Linked DNA regions of Homo sapiens: region 2 is linked to region 1. The links are contacts of gene promoters, found by promoter capture Hi-C in human tissues and cell types (Jung and others, 2019). All regions are on one chromosome and are shown on one strand. Each heading gives the region's core, a stretch centred on a gene start or on the middle of the fragment in contact. The rest is flanking DNA. Distances are from core to core; before and after follow the strand shown. Region 1 holds the start of INF2 (inverted formin 2). Region 2 holds the start of BRF1 (BRF1 general transcription factor IIIB subunit).

Region 1 (6,313 bases), core at 943-3,442:
TGGCAGGAGTGGAAGCCTCTCTAACAGGGGGCCAGGTGGTTGGACCCTGCTCACCCCTCCAGCGACGGGGAGCCCGTGCCCCTGCCCTCTCTCCTTCCCACCGTTGGTAGAACTTAGTCTTTGACTTTAGGTGTCCACTAGGCCTGGGTCTGCTGTGGCCCCTGGGGACCACCCTCCAGAGACTGGCTCCTATGTGGCCTCCACCTCCCGGCCTTCCCGTCCACCATCCTGAAAACAGAGGTGGGTGTGCCTTCTCCAATGTAATGTGTCCACTGGGCCATGAACCACACACCTATCAGACACCTGCTGTTTGCAAGATGGAGGTAGGGGAGGGGCTGGCAGCAGGGAGTCAGGTCTCATTCCTGACTACAGGGAAATTTGACCTCCAGGCACCAGCAAAAAGCCAGGGGCTTGAGCTTACTTCACTGTCCCCGTCCAGAGCTGGGCCAGCTGCGTCCTGCCCCACACCCACAGGCAGCACCGCATCACTTTCCAGTCACCACCCACCCCTCCCGCAGCCTGCATGAACCGCATAACTTTTCCAACCCAGGAAGTAACTGCACTTTGATGGAAGGCGCAGAGTCTATTTCAGGTAGGAGCTTCCACGTCCCCACATGTGCGGTGTGTGTCATTCGCTTGACAGCCGTCAGCTCCTCCACAAAGTGGGCGCTCACCTGAAGGTTAACTCAGGAGCCCTGGCTGTGGAGGCTACAGTCGCACCTGGCCACTTGGTCCGTCCCCACTAGCGACATCCCCTTTGCCGGGCTGCAGGGCCCATGACAGTCCAGGGATGGGAGGGCAGGGCCTGGGCAGGGCCCACTGCACCAACCTGGCTTTTAGAACAGAAAATTGCTGCTGCCCTGGTAGGGGTGGGAGCAGTGTGAGGTCTCAGACCCCAGGCCTGGAACCCAATGCTACTATTTGCTGCACTGGGGGCTGAGCACCGACACCCCAAAAGCCCCTGGCTGGGTGGCACCCTCGGGGTCTGAGGCACTGCTCTGGGACCCCACCTTCCCAGTGCAGGGCGGCAGGGAGCAGGTCCCAGCCTGAGCTGCTGTCCCACCCTTCAGAGTGCAGATGTGGAAACTGAGGCCGGAAGAGGGCGAGTATCCTGCTCCATTCCAGTGCCAGACGGAGGGGCAGGGCTGGCAGTAAGGGAATTTCCTACGTCCAGCGCCTTCTGGGTGTGCCTGACCTCTGGCCCGGTTCCTGGGTTCCTGGTTCCCTGCCTGGGCAGGGTCTCTGCCTCTCTGCCTCCTGGTGTGTCCAGCTGGAGTGGGCAGTAATGCTGTGGTCACAGCTGAGCTGCGGGAGCCCTGGGTGGGGAGCTTGAGCCCCAGAAGGCCCAGACAGACAGACCACCCCCCACGCCTGTGCTCCCCAGGGGGCATTGGGGACGGTCAGGGACACAGCTGGTCACCCCGCCTTCCCCTCCTTAGTCATGGTCACTCCTGGGGCGACTCCCCAGTTAGAGGGTTGACGGGTGGGTCTGGGGGCGTACAGGGATTGGATCCTACCCCACCCAAAAGGAACAGAGAGCTGTGATGGAGGCTGATTCCCCTAAGCCTGCCAGCGGTTGCGGGGTGGGAAGGGCTCCCTGTGCGCCCACCTGCGCGTGGGCAGCTGGAAGCCAAGCAGTCAGGGTGGGGCCGCAGGCCGGCGCGCACCTCGGGGTGCCACCCGGGCGGCGGACCCGAAGTTGAAGTTTATTTTCCCAACTGTGGCTGATTCATGGTCAGGATGTGGCAGCCGCGAGGCGCGGAAATCCCGCCTGCCCTGGGAGTAGGCCCGGCCGACCCTGGGCCCACCACTCTGCGGCCAGTGCGCGCTCGGGCGGTGCCTCGGCGCGGAGGACCATAGTCCCGAGCGGGGCGCGCGGAGCCGGGGGGGCCAGGGGCGCCCTGGGGTCCCCGCCCGGGAACTGTACCCTGCGCCGCCGGACCGCCCGCCGCCACCTGGGCACACACGCCGCAGCCCGGAACCTCGCTCCTGGACCCAAGCACGCCCCTGCCTCCTCCCGGACTCAGTTTCCCCTGAAGCTCCAAGCGGACCCCGAGGCCAAGGACTTACCCGGTGAGGCAACGGCCAGAGGGCGGTGGTGCGGCCGGCGCTCCGTCCGGGGCCGGGTCAGGGGCTGCGGGCAGCCGGCGCCCACTGCCGCGCTCCGCAAGGCTCGGACGGTGGCTCCTGGCGGGCGCGGGGCGGGCGGGGCGGGCGGGAGGAAGAGGAGGTGCCGCCCCGCCCGTCAGCGGCCACGTGGGGAGCGAGCGCGGGCCGGGGGCGGGGCCTGGGGGGGGAGGTGGGTGGCTGGGGGTGGCCCCGCCCACTGTGGCCGGTCCCTGAGGGCGCTTTAAGGGGTCTCCCCACTCCCGTGAATAACCTGGCCGCCCCCTCGCGGTCCCTGCTGGCCTGGCTCCTGGTGGGCGGAGATGGGGGTGGGACGCGCAGATCGGGGCCGTCTCCCGCCTCAGCCCCCACTGTCCGCCCCGTCCCTGCCCTCCACCGCCTCCCGTCCACCTACACCCCTATCCTCCGGTGGGACTGGCCTCCCAGGCGCCGCTCACCTCTCTCTGCCCCGGCCCGGGACTCCCGTTCCAGCCAGCCGGATCCGGAGTCCCCGCGTTCGGGGATCCCTCAGCAGAGATGGCTCTTCCCAGGCTTTGGGGAGAGAGAGCCTACCCATCAACCAGGCCACCCATGTGGCCTCCTCTCCGCAGCCCTGCCTGACCCCCTTCCACCCTTGATGGGGTCTCGGCGGTCTTGGGCAGCCGCACTTCGCCGGTTGGTGGAGACAGCTGCATGAGGGCCGCGGAGGTGTCGCAATGGGGTGGGTTTTCTCTGCCACCCCTCTGCTGTCCGGCCTCATCTGTCTCCTAGATTGAGGGGGGCACCCATCCCCCCACCGCCGACATTGACCAGCATGGGGCGTGCCCATAGTCGGCTCTGAAAGCCAGCCTGGTTGGATGAGAGCCAGACCCCAGCTCTGGAAGTCCCTTCTGACGTCTGACCCTCAGTCAGAGCTGCAGGAAGCAGCGCACCAGGCCTGGGGTTTGGGGGCCACTGGCAGCTAGAGGGAGGGCAGAGGAAGGCAGGCCTGGGGGAGCCCCCGTGTGACATGTGACAGAGCAGACACAACCCCTGCCCTGAGAACCGGCGCCAGCACTCCCTGTGCGGCCTCAGGCTCGGATATGACTCTGTGGAGCCTCAGTTTCCCCATCTGTAAAATAGAATAAGTACCCGTAAGGGCTGTATGAGGGTCAAGAACATGCGGATAAAGTGTCTCCACTCGGAGTCCTGACATCTCTCTCCGGAGGGCCTGCTGTGTGGGCCGTGGCGGCCAGGGCTCAGGGTGAGGGCGAGGGGAGAGAAAAGGGCTCCTGAATGGCTTCCCAGCCCCGATGCAGCTTCTGCTTTGAGGCCAGCTGCGTGTCCTTTGGCTTTGGTGTGCCTCCGCTCCGGTGGGGATAAGCGCCGAATTGCAGGCTGCGTCTGTCTGCTCCCTGTGCGGACCTTGCCCTGCCCAGCAGCCCCAGCCCCGGAAGTTTGCTGGCTCAGCCCCAGTGCAGGAGCAGCTGCAGGCCACAGCCCCGGGTGTGCCTGAGGAGCCAGCCAAGGCAGGCGCTCACTGGACACCCTCCAACCTGGGCGGCCGCTGCTCCTAGACAGGCACTCTGCAATTCTTGGAATGCACCTGGAAGGCCGGCCTCCGGCCCTCCACACCGGGCTCCAGGGCCCCTTCCAGAGCAGAAGGCCTTCCTGCCCTCCCTCAAGCTGGGCTTTGGGTCTCCTGGTGCACTCCTGGACCCGAACATTGGTGCCTGCCCTGGTACCACCCCACCCTGGAGGGCACGGGCGGGGCTGACTCATCTGCGTTGGGAGCTGATGCCTGGCAGCGGTGCTGGGCAGTGGGTGTGTTTGTTGATCCAGTGAATGGAGGAATGTGAGGAGGTTGGTGGGGAGTGAGCTTTGACCTGCAGCCCCCTCCCCTGTCCACCTGCCTGGGGGAAAGTCAGAGTCCTGAGCCTTACTCAGAGGCTGGAGTAGGAGGTCAGGTGTGGGCGAGGGGTCCACCTTTCCTGCCCTGATGGGGGAGGGAGGCCCAGCGCCCCCAGGGCCGCTCCTGCCTGGGGCTGTCTCCCTTGCACCCAGTCGTGCTTCCGAGCTGCACACCTGGTCCAGAGAGGCCAGCACAGGCCGGAGCAGGGTGAAGAAGGTGGGGTGAATGTGATTTAGTTGGAGAGAGGTTGGAGAAGTCCCTGGGGTCGGCAGGGAGTGCAGAGGAGGGCTTTGGGCCCTGATTAAGAGTGTGTGTCTGTGTGTGTGTGTGTGTATGTGTGTGTGTGTGTGTGGAGTGGAGGCCGAGGTCAGAGGTCTGGGAGGGTGGAAATGTGGACACTGAAAGGGGGTTTTCCGTCAGGCTTGAACCCACCATGCCCGGGGCAGCAGGGTTCAACCCGGCTTGAGCACTGATTTTCTGAGACATACAGAGGCCCCCTCCTCTTCTCCTTCAGTGGCTCACCCTCAACCCTCTGTACCTCCAGCGCTCCCAGACTCCATCCTGGCCCTATTCTGAGCTTGCTTCCTGGCCCTGGGGTTGAAGAGAGGACCGATTTGGCCTCAGAAACACACCACCTGCAGCCACTGCCTGCGGCTTCCGGAGCTGCTTCCTGGAAGCCATGGCCTGCCTGGAGCCTCCCCTCCTGGGTGTCGGTCCTTCCTCGGAGCCGGGTACACAAGTGCCGGCCCCCAGCTGCAGGTACCCAGATGCCTGAGAACAGGGTCGTGCAGGTACAGGCTGGTACTGTGACACACCCAGGCGGAGCCACATGTTCCTGGCCACTGGCACAGAGTGCAAGAGTGGCCCTGCCACTGTAGGCCTGTGGAGAGCTTGCCTCTGCCTCTTGCTGGAAGATTGGGATGAGGGGAGAGCAGGCCTTGGCACCGACAGCTTGAGTTCTGCTAGAAACAGGCAGGCAGGTGTGGGCGTTCTGAGAGAAATCCTCCCAGCCTGATGTTGGCGCCGCCGTGCAGTCAGGACAGCCCTGCATGCAGCAGGCGGCCACTTGCAGGCCCAGAAGGGCTTCCTGGGGTCCACCTGAGCAGCAGCCTGGCCATGGGTTCATTTCCTTCATCAGTTCAGCACCCAGAATGCTTTTTATCTTTTTTCCCCTTTTGAGATTTTATTTTGCATCCTACTGTGGTGCCCTGAGATGATCTCTGACATTGTTACAGAATGAAGTAAGTGAAAACATGCCTGCTCACCCATGTCCACCCACCTTGCCCACCTATGTACCCATTCACCCATTCATCCATCCATTCCCACACACACCCACACTTCATCCGTCTGTTCACCCACCTACCCACCCATTCACCCACCCACCCTCATCCATCCATCTGCCTATCCATTCATCCATCCACCCACCCATCTGTCCATCCACTTATCCATACACCTACCCATCCACCTATTCACCCTTAATCCACTCATCCACCCATCCACCCACCTACCCACCCATTCATCCACCTACCCTTATCCATCCATCTGCCCATCCATTCATCTATCCACCCACCCACCTATCCACTCACACATCCATCCACCTACCCATCCACCCATCCACCTACCCACCTATCATCTACTCATCCATCCATCTGCCCATCCCTTCATCCATCTACCCATCCACCTACCCATCATCCACTCATCCACCCATCTAACCACCTACCCACCGACTGATCCACCCACCCTCATCCATCCATCTGCCCATCTATTTGTCCATCCACCCACCCACCTACCCACCCACCTATCCACCCACCTACCCATCCATCCATCCACCTACCCACCCATCATCCACTCATGCACCCATCCCCCCACTTACCCACCCATTTGCCACTCACCCACCCACCCTCATCCATTCATCTGCCCATTCATTCATCCATCCACCCACCCATCCATCCATCCACCCACCATCCACTTACCCATCGGCCTACCCACCCATCATCCACTCATCCACCCATCCACCCACCTACTCACCCATTCATCCACCCATGCACCCACCCTTATCCATCCATCTGCCCATCCATTCATCCATCCACCCACCCACCTATCCACCAACACATCCATCCACCTACTCATCCACCCATCCACCTACCCAGCCATCATCCACTCATCCACCCATCCCCCCACCTACCCACCCATTCATCCACCCATCCACCCACCCACCCACCCTTTCATCCACCCATCCACCCACTCACCCTTCCAGCTGTGGCACCTTGGGCAGCTGTTCTGCTCTATGCTTGCTGACAAGGACACGACCGCCCC
Region 2 (6,323 bases), core at 2,037-4,536, 610 kb before region 1:
ATCTCTTGACCTCGTGATCTGCCCTCCTCAGCCTCCCAAAGTGCTGGGATTACAGTCCTGAGCCACCGAGCCTGGCTGAAACCACACCCTTTAAACCTCTTACCGTTGTGGGTGTGGTCTTCCCCACCCTCTGCTCCTCTGGCCAATCCTGTCCTGTACAGCCTGACTGTCCTGTACTGCCTGACTGTCCTGCACCGCTGTGGCCTGGGAGGCATGCTGCCCCTTGCACCTGCAGGCACCTCACAGGCTTTGGTGAGGGAGCACACGAAATAACCCCTCTAGTCTGTCAGGTGAGAGCAAGGATCCAGTGGCCACATGGCCTCAGATTGGATTCTGGCTTTGTTACCTACTGGCTATGAGATTTGGGGCTGTCACCCCTCACATCCTCAAGGGCTCCCTCCATAAAATGGAGACAACAGTGTCTGCAAGCTAGTGTTGCCATAAGGATGAAATGTCATCATGGACAGAGAGCATTTTGCATAGAGATCAATAATACATATTTGAAAAATCCCCAACATTTAGAAACAAAACAATACACTTCCTAATAACCCTTGGATCCGGGAGGAAATTAAGAGTGGAGACAATCTTGAGCTGAATGAAAATGAAAACACAGCACATTGAAATGTGCAGGATTCAGCTAAAGTGGTAATTACAGGGAGAATTATAGCAATAAAATGCCTATTTATAAAGGAAAAGAGATCTTAAATCAATGATTTCATCTTTCACCTTAAAAAACTAGGAAAAGGCCAGGCGCGATGGCTCACGCCCATAGTCCCAGCACTTTGGGAGGGCGAGACAGGTGGATCACGAGGTCAGGAGATCAAGACCATCCTGGCTAACACAGTGAAACCCTGTCTCTACTAAAAATACAAAAAATTAGCCAGGCATGGTGGTGGGCACCTGTAGTCCCAGCTACTTGGGAGGCTGAGGCAGGAGAATGGCATGAACCCGGGAGGTGGAGGTTACAGTGAGCCAAGATCGCACCACTGCATTCCAGCCTGGGTGACAGAGCGAGACTCCACCTCAAAAAACAAAACAAAACAAAAACTAGAAAAAGGGGCCGGGTGCATTGGCTCACGTGTAGAATCTCAACACTTTGGGAGACCAAGACAGGTGGATCACTTGAGGTCAGGAGTTTGGGACCAGCCTAGCCAACATGGTGAAACCCCATCTCTACTAAAAATACAAAAATTAGCTGGGCGTGGTGGCACATGCCTGTAATTCCAGCTACTTGGGAGGCTGAAGTGACAGAATCACTTGAACCTGGGAGGTGGAAGTTGCAGTGAGCTGAGATGGCACCACTGAACTCCAGCCTGGGTGTTCTCTATCTCAAAAAAAAAAAAGAACTAGAGAAAGGGCGGGGAGCAGTGGCTCATGCCTGTAATCCCAGCACTTTGGGAGGACAGGGCGGGGAGCAGTGGCTCATGCCTGTAATCCCAGCACTTTGGGAAGACAAGGCGGGTGGCTCACTTGAGCCCAGGAGTTCCAGACCAGCCTGGGCAAATGAGGCAAAAACCCATCTCTACAAAAAATATTATCTGGGTGTGGTGGCACATGCCTGTAGTTCCAGCTACTCGGGAGGCTGAGGTGGGAGGATCACCTGAGCCCAGGAGGTAGAGTCTGCAGTGAGGCTTGATTATGCTACTGCACTCCACCTTGGGTGACAGAATGAGACACTATCTCAATTTTTAAAAAATGAAGAAACTAGAAAAAGGGAACACATTGAACCAAATTAAGTGGAAAGAAGGATCTAACAAAAATGAGAGCAGAAATTAATGAAATAGGGCCATGCACGGTGGCTCATGCCTGTAATCCCAGCACTTTGGGAGGCTGAAGTGGGCGGATCACCTGAGGTCGGGAGTTCAAGACTGGCCTGACCAACATGGAGAAACCCCGTCTCTACTAAAAATACAAAATTAGCCAGGTGTGGTGGTGCATACCTGTAATCCCAGCTACTCGGGAGGCTGAGAGAGGAGAATCGCTTAAACCCAGGAGGCAGAGGTTGCAGTGAGCCGATATCTCACCACTGCACTCCAGCCTGGGCAACAGAGCAGAGACTCCGTCTCAAAAAAAAAAAAAAAAGAAAGAAAAAAAAGAGGGTGGGGTCTTCCGCATTTCCTTTTTTCTCTTTTTTTTTTTTGAGACAGAGTTTCACTCTTGTCACCCGTCACCCAGGCTGGAGTGCAATGGCGGGATCTCAGCTCACTGCAACCTCCACCTCTCAGGTTCAAGTGGTTCTCCTGTCTCAGACTCGCGAGTAGCTGGGATTACAGGCGCCCACCACCAAGCCTGGCTAATTTTTTTGTATTTTTAGTGGAGACGGGGTTTCGCCATGTTGGCCAGGCTGGTCTCGAACTCCTCACCTTACGTGATCCGCCTGCCTTGGCCTCCCAAAGTGCTGGGATTACAAGCGTGAGCCACTACGCCTGGTTACGCATTTCTTTTTAGGCTCATTCCTGGGTATGTCACCGGCCCTATGGCGATTGTGAACAGCACCTGCAGATATTTGAGGGCGTGCGCAGCCAGGGTTCCCGCTCTGGGCAGGGGGCACAGCGAGGTGACTCACGGGTAACCACAGGTGGCCACGAATGACTGCTAGAAAGTGGGAATTTTAGGGGAACAGAAAACGGAGAATAGCGGGGCGCACGGGGAGGCTCTGGAACCTGGGCGAGCGGAGCGGCGGACGCCGCAAATGCGGAGGGCGGGGCAGGGTGGCCCCTGGCGGGTGTCTCCACCTCTGCGGCCAGGCCCCCCAGCGCAGCTGCCCTGGCCCCGCCCACCACTCCCAGAGCCCGGGGTTGGGTCCCAGGTCGCCCTCAGGAGCCAAGGCCCCGCCCACCACGCTCGGCCCCCTCGCCTCAAGCCCCGCCCACAGTTCGGGTCCAGACCCAGGCTCCGCCCCCTTCCCCCGCCCACAGCTCCAGTTCCCTTCGCAGGCCGTCTCTCCACGGGAGGCCCCGCCCCCCACCCTCAGCCCCGCATCCGGCTGAGTCCTCACCCCAGGCCTCGCTCGCCGCTGGAGACCGCGCTCACTATCCGAGGAGGACCCTCCTCTGCCCCGCGTCCAGCTTTAGTCCCCGACTGCGTTCATCGCCAAGGGCCCGCCCACTGCCTTAGGTCGCGTCGCCAGCCTTGGGTCCCGTCGCCAGCCTTGGGTCCCGTCCCCGGCTGCACTCACCGCGAGGCCCCACCCTTAGCTCTAGTCCCCGGTGTCGCCCACCGACGAGGCCCCGCCCCAAACTCCAGTCCCGGGCTGCGCTCACCGCCGTGGCCCCGCCCCCAAGCGCCAGTCCTCGGCTGCGCTCACCGGTAGGCCCCGCTCGGGTTCCGCCGAAGCCCAGCCCCCGCAGGTCGCCCCTCCGACGCCGGCGCGCCGCAAGGGAGGCCAGCTCGCTCGCAGTGGGGAGGTCGCGGCTCCAGTCCTCGCGTCCCCGCCGTGGTCCCGGTGCCTGTCCCATCCCGCGGGCGCGGCCGTTGCGGGCGGCGCGGCCCGGGCGCGCGCGGCGAATCTGCGGCTGCGAATCGGCTGGAGCGGGGCCTCGCGAGAGCGGCGAGGCCTGGGCGGCTGGGCCTGGGCGGGCGGCGCGGGCTGCTCCGGAGGCTCGGGTGGCTTGAGAGTCTTGGGAGGCTCCGGGCGCTGCCCGCGCGGTCGCCGGCATGACGGGCCGCGTGTGCCGCGGTTGCGGCGGCACGGACATCGAGCTGGACGCGGCGCGCGGGGACGCGGTGTGCACCGCCTGCGGCTCAGTGCTGGAGGACAACATCATCGTGTCCGAGGTGCAGTTCGTGGAGAGCAGCGGCGGCGGCTCCTCGGCCGTGGGCCAGTTCGTGTCCCTGGACGGTGAGTCCCGCGGGCTGGCGCTGCGCGGATTTCTCGGTGCGGCTTAGGCGGGCTGGAGGCGGTGACGGCGCGGCCGGGACCAGCGCCTCGGTACCGCACGCTCTGTCGGGGCGCGCGGTTCTGCGCCGTCTGGGCGCGAGTGTGGATCCCCTTGGCGAGAATGTAGACCTTCTTCGCGCGCCTGTGGACCCCCGTGGCGTGCGTGGACTTCCTCGACACACGCGTGGGCCAGGGCAGCCAGCACAGGGAGGGTTGAAGAGAGCCTGGGGAGCCCAGAAGGCCCCTCAAGCTGCCCCTCACTGTCACTCTCTGTGCCTGCAGTTTTGTTTTCAGCAATGTCTGGTACTTAGAATCCGATTGCTGCTGCCCTTGGCCTTGGTGGTTACCGGGCGGATGCCCTAGGGCCACTCAGGCTGCTGCAGGCCTCGGAGGGGACGTTTCAGTGATGGGCAGTATTGCGGGCTGGGGATGGACCCCAGCCTGTGGAAGGAGCTGGACTGTGGCCAGTTTCAGGTGGTTGTGAATAGAGCTGCTAAAAGGATTCATTTGCAGCTCTCTGTGTGAACATACGTTTTCATTTCTCTGGGGAACTTAGCTGTATGTGTAACTCTATGGGAAACTGTCATGAACTGTTTTGTGATGTGGCTGTGCCATTATGCATTCTCACCAGTTGCCCCACATCTTCACCAGCACTTGGTGTTGTCGATGTTTTTATTTCGGTTGTTCTAACAGGTGTGTGGCATCTCATCATAGTGGTATTCTGTATTTCTCTACTGGCTAGTGATGTTCAACCTTATTAGGGTGCTTATTTGCCATGCCCGAATCCTCTTTGTTGAAATGTGTGCTCAAGTCTTATTTTTTTATTTATCTCGAGACAGGATCTCACTCTGTGGCCCAGGCTGGTGTGCAATGGCCCAGTCATGGCTCTCTGCAGCCTTGAACTCCTAGGCTCAGGCAATTCTCCTGCCTCAACCTCCTGAGTAGCTGAGACTACAGGTGCATGCCACCATGCTGTGATCATTTATTTTATTTTATTTTTAGTAGAGACAAGGTCTCTATGTTGCCCAGGCTGGTCTCAAACTCCTGGGCTCAAGTGATACTCCAGCCTTGGCCTCCCGAATTGCTGGGATTACAGCGTGAGCCACCACACCCTGACTCTCATTTTTTATTTGGGTTGTTTTCTTATTGTTGAGTTTTGGGAGTTCTTTGTGGATTGTAGTTACAAGCCCTTTGTTGTATATGTGATTTTCAAAGCAGAAGTTTTTTTTCTTTTGAGATGGAGTCTTGCTCTGTTGCCCAGGCTGGAGTGCAGTGGCTCGATCTCGGCTCACTGCAAGCTCTGCCTCCCAGGCTCACGCCATTCTCCTGCCTCAGCCTCCCGAGTAGCTGGGACTACAGGAGCCCACTACCATGCCCGGCTAATTTTTTTTGTATTTTTTAGTGGAGACGGGGTTTCACTGTGATAGCCAGGATGGTCTCGATCTCCTGACCTCGTGATCCGCCTACCTCGGCCTCCCAAAGTGCTGGGATTACAGGCGTGAGCCACTGCGCACGGCCTCAAAGCAGAAGTTTTAACTTTTTTTTTTTTTTTGAGACAGAATCTTGCTCTGTGGCCCAGGCTGGAGTGCAGTGGCACAATCTCGTTTCACTGCAACCTCTGCCTCCCAGGTTCAAGTGATTCTCGTGCCTCAGCCTCCCAAGTACCTGGGATTACAGGCGTGCGCCACCTCACTTGGCTAATTTTTGTATTTTTAGTAGAGACAGGGTTTCACCCTGTTCGTCAGGCTGGTCTTGAACACCTGACCTCAAGTGATCCGCCTGCCTCAGCCTCCCAAAGTGCTGGGATTACAGGCGCGAGCCACCGCACCTGGCCTAAATCTGTGGTCCATCTATGTTTTGTATAAGGTGTGCTTTGTAGGCTGAGGCTCATTGTTTATCTGGAGGTCCCCTTGTTTCAACACCGTTTGTTGAAAGACTGAAGGCCTTTGCTCCCTCGGCTGTGCTCACTGGGCCCCGTCCGTGCAGGTCTGTCTCTGGGCCTTGTGTCCTGCCCTGTTGATCAGGTGCCGTTTTCCTTTGTCAGCATCACACGCTTTTTTACTATACCTGTTATATTGTCCTGAAATCAGATATTGTGAGTCCCTCAACCTTTGTTCTTCCTTTTCAAAGTTGTTGTGGCTATTAATTTCCCTTTCTCTTTTTAATTTTAGAGTAAGTTTGTGCATCTCTGCAGGTCACATATTCTTACCTGAAATGCTTGGGACCAGAAGTGTTTTGGATACCAGAGTTTTCTGATTTTGGAATATCTGCATTATAATTACTGGTTAAGCATCCCTAATCGAAAAATCTGAAATCTGAGATGCTCCAGTGAGCATTTCCTTTGAGCATCGTGTTGATACTCAAAAAGTTTCATGTTTTGGAGCATTTATTTTTTATTTTATTTTTTTCTTGAGACGGAGTCTCGCTTTGCTGCCCATGCTGG

What was found. Contacts are between HindIII fragments. The study calls those that stand out against the background at their distance.
Region 2: a contact is called between the fragment with the promoter of BRF1 here and the fragment with the promoter of INF2 in region 1, in 2 of the 25 tissues and cell types used here (IMR-90 fibroblasts and dorsolateral prefrontal cortex).

What each region holds. Positions count from the first base shown.
Region 1 is chr14:104,685,497-104,691,809 of GRCh38, reverse strand. INF2 (inverted formin 2) reads right to left here and starts at 2,192. Exons shown (of 23, transcript NM_022489.4): 1 at 2,071-2,192. RefSeq lists silencers at 1,679-1,728, 1,819-2,058, 2,079-2,168, 2,269-2,528 and enhancers at 2,221-3,210, 3,211-4,198. The HindIII fragment of the contact is 30,363 bases long and covers 1-6,313 here.
Region 2 is chr14:105,297,964-105,304,286 of GRCh38, reverse strand. It overlaps BRF1 (BRF1 general transcription factor IIIB subunit), which reads left to right and starts at 3,286. Exons shown (of 18, transcript NM_001519.4): 1 at 3,286-3,841. The coding sequence starts at 3,658. It also overlaps the pseudogene LOC124903409 and a transcript of PACS2 not described here. RefSeq lists silencers at 2,605-2,974, 3,205-3,614 and an enhancer at 4,465-4,544. The HindIII fragment of the contact is 16,575 bases long and covers 1-6,323 here.